Linked DNA regions of Homo sapiens: region 2 is linked to region 1. The links are contacts of gene promoters, found by promoter capture Hi-C in human tissues and cell types (Jung and others, 2019). All regions are on one chromosome and are shown on one strand. Each heading gives the region's core, a stretch centred on a gene start or on the middle of the fragment in contact. The rest is flanking DNA. Distances are from core to core; before and after follow the strand shown. Region 1 holds the start of RUNX2 (RUNX family transcription factor 2). Region 2 has its middle 220 kb from the start of MIR4642.

The links. The method cuts DNA at HindIII sites, captures the fragments that hold promoters and counts their contacts. A contact is called where the count stands out against the background at its distance.
Region 2: a fragment that was not itself captured here is called in contact with the fragment with the promoter of RUNX2 in region 1 in 1 of the 25 tissues and cell types used here (dorsolateral prefrontal cortex).

Annotation. Positions count from the first base shown.
Region 1 is chr6:45,326,951-45,330,096 of GRCh38, forward strand. It overlaps RUNX2 (RUNX family transcription factor 2), which reads left to right and starts at 1,380. Exons shown (of 9, transcript NM_001024630.4): 1 at 1,380-1,510; 2 at 1,711-1,834. The coding sequence starts at 1,777. All of the region lies in intron 2 of SUPT3H (SPT3 homolog, SAGA and STAGA complex component), which reads right to left. RefSeq lists a cis regulatory region at 98-104, a promoter at 1,062-1,702 and an enhancer at 1,109-1,149. The HindIII fragment of the contact is 4,056 bases long and covers 1-3,146 here.
Region 2 is chr6:44,654,718-44,657,535 of GRCh38, forward strand. No RefSeq gene overlaps it. Among named protein-coding and RNA genes, the nearest start is that of MIR4642, 220 kb to the left of the region's middle. The HindIII fragment of the contact is 4,670 bases long and covers 1-2,818 here.

The DNA.
Region 1 (3,146 bases), core at 130-2,629:
GCAAAAAAATGCCTAGAAAATTGGTCTGTTCGCCTTTATAATTTTGGTTGAAAAATACTCCATCGCTCCCAACTGATGAAAACAGGAAGCTCTATTCATAAATATAAAATTCACTGCCTATGATATATAATCATCCTAATAAGAAAATGAGTTCTATACATACTTGTCCAAAGGGGCAAAAAAGGAGATAGTTTCCCAAAGATGTTTCCAATTTTCTTCTGAATCAGAATTAGCAAATCGAGACGACTAACATACTCTGTCTGTGGGCATTATTCCTTACTACACACAGCATTTTGTAATTTATTTCAAAGCTTCCATTAGAAACAAAAAAATACATAGCTTCTGTTAACCCACTCTATTCTAAGCTCATAGAATCAAATACTGAACAATCTACATTATAACATAAGCATTTTACTTTATAGAAGATCTGCTATCAGAAACTCTATTAATGTCTAAACTACTTAAAGAACTATATAAACTGAATACACTTCAATGAAAGACAAAAAATATTACAATCATAAAGAAAACTAAGATTCATCCAATAAACTATATTACAATCCCTGTCATTCATTTTTTTAAGATCTTCAAACTAGGCATGAGATAATGGTATACATGAAACATTACATTTAATCTTTATTGTAAAGGCCGCCATCTAATAGATTGATAATAAACTAGACAGACGTGATTTAAAATTTGTAAAAGAATGCCCAGACTAACACTTTCATGACAGCCAATTATAGTCAAGCCTAGCAAGCAGTTTGCAACCAGACCTTAAGGTAAACTTTTTTTTTTTTTACAATGAGTTACAGATTCACAAGTTTAAGAAGACAAGAAAAAGGAAAACAGAAGGAATCCAGCCACCCAGCAAATATGAAGCAGACCCCAGAATGTGATACAGTCCAAAGATGTGAATTATTGTATATCATCACTGTTGTTCAGAATTTCACACAGACTCTTGAGCCAATTTTGTTCATTTTTCCACAGACACAATAATGAACTAAAAAGAGGAGGCAAAAAGGCAGAGGTTGAGCGGGGAGTAGAAAGGAAAGCCCTTAACTGCAGAGCTCTGCTCTACAAATGCTTAACCTTACAGGAGTTTGGGCTCCTTCAGCATTTGTATTCTATCCAAATCCTCATGAGTCACAAAAATTAAAAAGCTATATCCTTCTGGATGCCAGGAAAGGCCTTACCACAAGCCTTTTGTGAGAGAAAGAGAGAGAGAGAAAGAGCAAGGGGGAAAAGCCACAGTGGTAGGCAGTCCCACTTTACTTAAGAGTACTGTGAGGTCACAAACCACATGATTCTGCCTCTCCAGTAATAGTGCTTGCAAAAAAAAGGAGTTTTAAAGCTTTTGCTTTTTTGGATTGTGTGAATGCTTCATTCGCCTCACAAACAACCACAGAACCACAAGTGCGGTGCAAACTTTCTCCAGGAGGACAGCAAGAAGTCTCTGGTTTTTAAATGGTTAATCTCCGCAGGTCACTACCAGCCACCGAGACCAACAGAGTCAGTGAGTGCTCTCTAACCACAGTCTATGCAGTAATAGTAGGTCCTTCAAATATTTGCTCATTCTCTTTTTGTTTTGTTTCTTTGCTTTTCACATGTTACCAGCTACATAATTTCTTGACAGAAAAAAATAAATATAAAGTCTATGTACTCCAGGCATACTGTAAAACTAAAACAAGGTTTGGGTATGGTTTGTATTTTCAGTTTAAGGCTGCAAGCAGTATTTACAACAGAGGGTACAAGTTCTATCTGAAAAAAAAAGGAGGGACTATGGCATCAAACAGCCTCTTCAGCACAGTGACACCATGTCAGCAAAACTTCTTTTGGGGTAAGTGTTACCATTTTTAAAATCCTGTAAGATATGAACCTGTTAAACATAAAGGTATGATTCTTTGATAAACTGCTAGCTTTTCCAAATAGCATATTAAAGATCCTAATTATGCTATCTTGTTGCATTAAGAATTGAAAAATGAAATTTCTGTATATATTTGCATTTGGTATCTGTAATGTATCTAATTTTCAAAGTAATGACTTGAAATATACAAAATTAAATTATCTCACATTGATCAAAATGTTTTCTAGAGTTATAGAGGTGAGGATATGAAAACAGTAAAAGAAACAGTTTAATACTCTCATTAACCCTCACCAGAAGAAAAGTCAGATCCTAAATTAATCAAAGCATTATAAATTATTGACTCCGGCAGCTCCCAATATTTGAGCAAACTTCAAAAAGGAAGCAATTTTACAAAATAACAGACCACAGAATTATCTCAACATTATGGTCTACCATGTATAACACAGAAATAAACCTGTAGTACAGTTAACATTTTAACCAGCTCAACTAAAAGAAATCTACTTATAAATTCAAACTGTATCCTATCTAAATAAGTTTGTTTCTAAACAACTTTATATAAGTATACATTCAGCTGAAATAAAATTATGATAAGCACATCACAGCCATTTTTAAAAGATCTTTATAGTTGCCCAGGATATTAAAAAGTTCATGGAAGTATTTTAAAACTTACATGCAACTGCATTTTTCTATGTAATTTTAATTTTACATCTACACACTGTTATCCATAGACCTTGTTATAAACACACTGAAACACTGAAACGTCTAAGATTCTTTTAATCACATTCTTGGACCTACCAAAATGAATAACTGCTGTTTAGTCTCATGAAAAATAAAGCTCCATAAGGATACCCTGTATGATTTTTAAAAGCCACAACTATTAAACCATGCTGGACTTTAAAAGAAGTAGGCATAATCTTGTCCCTTAATATTTAATTTCAAGTTACTGTTGATACAGATATGTAAATGACTTTAACATTCATCAGCTGATGTGTTATTATAGCAAAATATCTAAACACACTTACAAGATTCTCTTTATGATCTCCAACATGTTCCAACTACAAGGCAAGTTTTCAAAAATTTTTCTTATATCCATTAAAATAAACCTTCTTGCTGTGTACATCTATATTAACTCTGCTTTTAACTTACAACTAATGACTGGAGTTTCCTTTACTCCTCCTACTTCACACATTTTAACTGGATACTACTAGAGGATCAGTCTCAGTTTAGGTCAAACAGAAATAATTAAACCTGAAGGGAGAAAAAATGGTTTCTCTTACAGGGTGAG
Region 2 (2,818 bases), core at 103-2,602, 670 kb before region 1:
CCTATAATCCTAGCACTTTCAGAGGCCGAGGCGGACAGGATTACTTGAGCGCAGGAGTTCGAGACCAGCCTGGGCAACATGGTGAACCCCTGGTGGCATGCACCTGTGGGAGGATGACGCAGGAGAAGCACTTGAGCCTGGGAGGCAGAGGTTGTCGTGAGCCGAGACTGCACCACTGCACTCCAGCCTGGGTGACACAGCAAGATCCTGCCTCAAAAAAAAAAAAAAAAAAAAAAAAAAAAAAAAAAAAAAGAAAGAAAGAAAAAGAAGAAGAAGAAAAAAGAAAGAAAGTAAGGGAAGGAAGGAAGGGAGGGAGGGATGGAAGGAAGGAAGGAAGAAAGAAAAACAAAGGAAGAGGAAGGAAGAAAAAATTAGTATTACTCTCATTGTGTCACTAACTTTAATTACTACCTATATTATTATCTATGACTGTCTTTGCTAAGGAAAGAAGGAACTAACATTTATTGAACACCTTCAGTTGTCAAGAACTTGGCAGGACTTATTTTAAGTCTCATATAACCCTCTGAAGTGGGTGTTGTTATTCCTATTTTACAGATAAAGAAACTGAAATTCAGAGAGATTAAAGTAATTTTCCCATGATCCCACAGCTGGTAAGTGGCTGAGATAAGACAGAAACCCAGCCTCACTCCTAAACAACCCATTTCCCCCAAAACTCTTATCTACCTTATCTACCTACCTACCTACCTAAAAAAACAAAACAAACCCCTGAAATCCTGACTGAGGGCCTGAGAACCTCATGGTGAGGTGTGAAAACCCGTGCAGAGCACAGCATGTCCTGTGACATGAATATCAAGGAATGTCCCCAGGCAACCCGTGCCTGCTCAGCCGCTGTAATTGAGACAGACCCCACCTCTTGCGACAGAGCCTTTCTGGGTCTAAAAGAAGCAGGAACAACAAAGAAGCAAACAACTGGGGCTCGAGTCTACCCGCAGGGACGCCCGCAGACACCAGGTGGCGCCCGAGTCTGGCCGAACGCTGAGCTCCCCTCGGTCTGATTTCTGAGGGGGCACAGCGTCCACCGACTGTCAAATAGAGTGGGTGGAGGTGATGGCCAGCCAAAGAGAGGTGTCCTAGCTATGGTTGGGTGGCCTGTGGGGGAGATGCTACGTGAGGGTGCCCTATCCAAACACTGAGCACCGAGGGGTGATCCTGATGTCCACCACAGTGACCCGGGGAGGAGTTGTGAGCTCATGGTCCCAGGGTCCTGCCATGCAGGCACCAGGGACAGAAGACGGAAGTGGGGGTTCCTTCAGTTCCTCCAAGAGAGCCGTTTTCCATTCCCCGGCAGAGGCCACCTCAGCCCCTCCGCAGCTCTGTGCTTGGCCTGGGTGGACCCCGACCAGTGGATGTGGTTGAGCAGGAGGAGTCCTTAGACCCCAGCTTCTGGTCACAGGGGAAAGGAGTCTCCCGCGTTGGGGATCCCCATCCCCCTGGAAGCCAGGCCCTTCTGTCCAGGGCCCTGTGCCTTCTCTTACTGTGGACTGAGCCTCCACTCTTGGTTTCCACTTGGTAGAATGTCTGGATGAAAACAATCACACTTGGATTCCAGGTGACACAGACATGCCCAAAACCCTGGTGACATAGCTCAAGCAGAAAAAGGGACGACTTGATGTAGCAGTCTCCTACCTTTGTCTGCCCCACCTCCTAATTACCGGGACCATCTCAGTCTTTCCAGGACTTGCCAATTTCATACATCCCAGTTTTTCTTATAAGTCATTGAAAATAGTCTGGAAAGCCCAATATTCAATGTGGCATCTCCCAAACAGCTTCTCTCAGCCAGAAGTGGGACAGAACTCTAAAAGTGCTGGGGTTTGGTTTACATACTAAGGTCACCCATGGCCTATCCTATATTCCTAAGGTGAGGCTGTTGGAAGGGGAGAGGCTCCTTCTACCCACGCAGAGCAACATGGAAAGGCAGCCACCTGCCCCCTCAGCTTGCAGCCTGGAGGCCTTTGCGTTCCTCTCCATTTATATGTCCTGGATTCCAGAGCCAAAATCTTCTACGCCCATAGACAGAGAGTAGGTTCATTCAGAGGCTCATTAATTACATGGCTAAGAGAAGGAAGGGGAAGAAAAGACTCATGAAAATGTTCATTTAAACTTAATTGCTGCCCATGCTCTTGCTAATTGAAGTAGCTCCGTTGCATTTCACTTATGTACCTGAGTGTATTTAAAATGGGATATTGCACAGTATAAACTAAGCCACATCACAAACTAACGATCTGGAAAATCTCAGTTAAATAAACAAAGCTGGCTTTAAGTTACACAGGAGAAACATGTAGTCTCCCGTGCGTACACACACACACACACACACACACAGACACACATACAGCCAAAGCACCAGGATCTCAGACCTTCGGTTCATATCTTCTCCTTCATAGTTCAAATTAAACACAGTCTTAGTCTCTTGCTCTCTCTTTTCCTCTCTCTTTCCCTTATTAAATTTATTTTTAACAGTACCTTAAAAAAATAAACTCACCCCTCTGTGCCACTCCTATGCCAGGTGCAGCCAGGGGCAAATTTTTACAGCTGAATTACATGACCTGAAAAATACGGAGCACATAATGAGAACATTGAGAGACCCCATCTCTAGCACCGGGCCAGTGCTGGTGTAATAACATTCCTGGAGAGAGCAGTAGCCGGGGCAGCTGTGGAGTCAGGCTGAAGCCCTTACTCAGCATGAGGAATTATATATATCTTGGAACTCTTTCCTGAACCTAAACATTATTGCTGAGAAAGGGATAACAGTGTGAGTGGCCATCGCTCGCCAGCCAGGGCTCACACACTGCTTCGAATG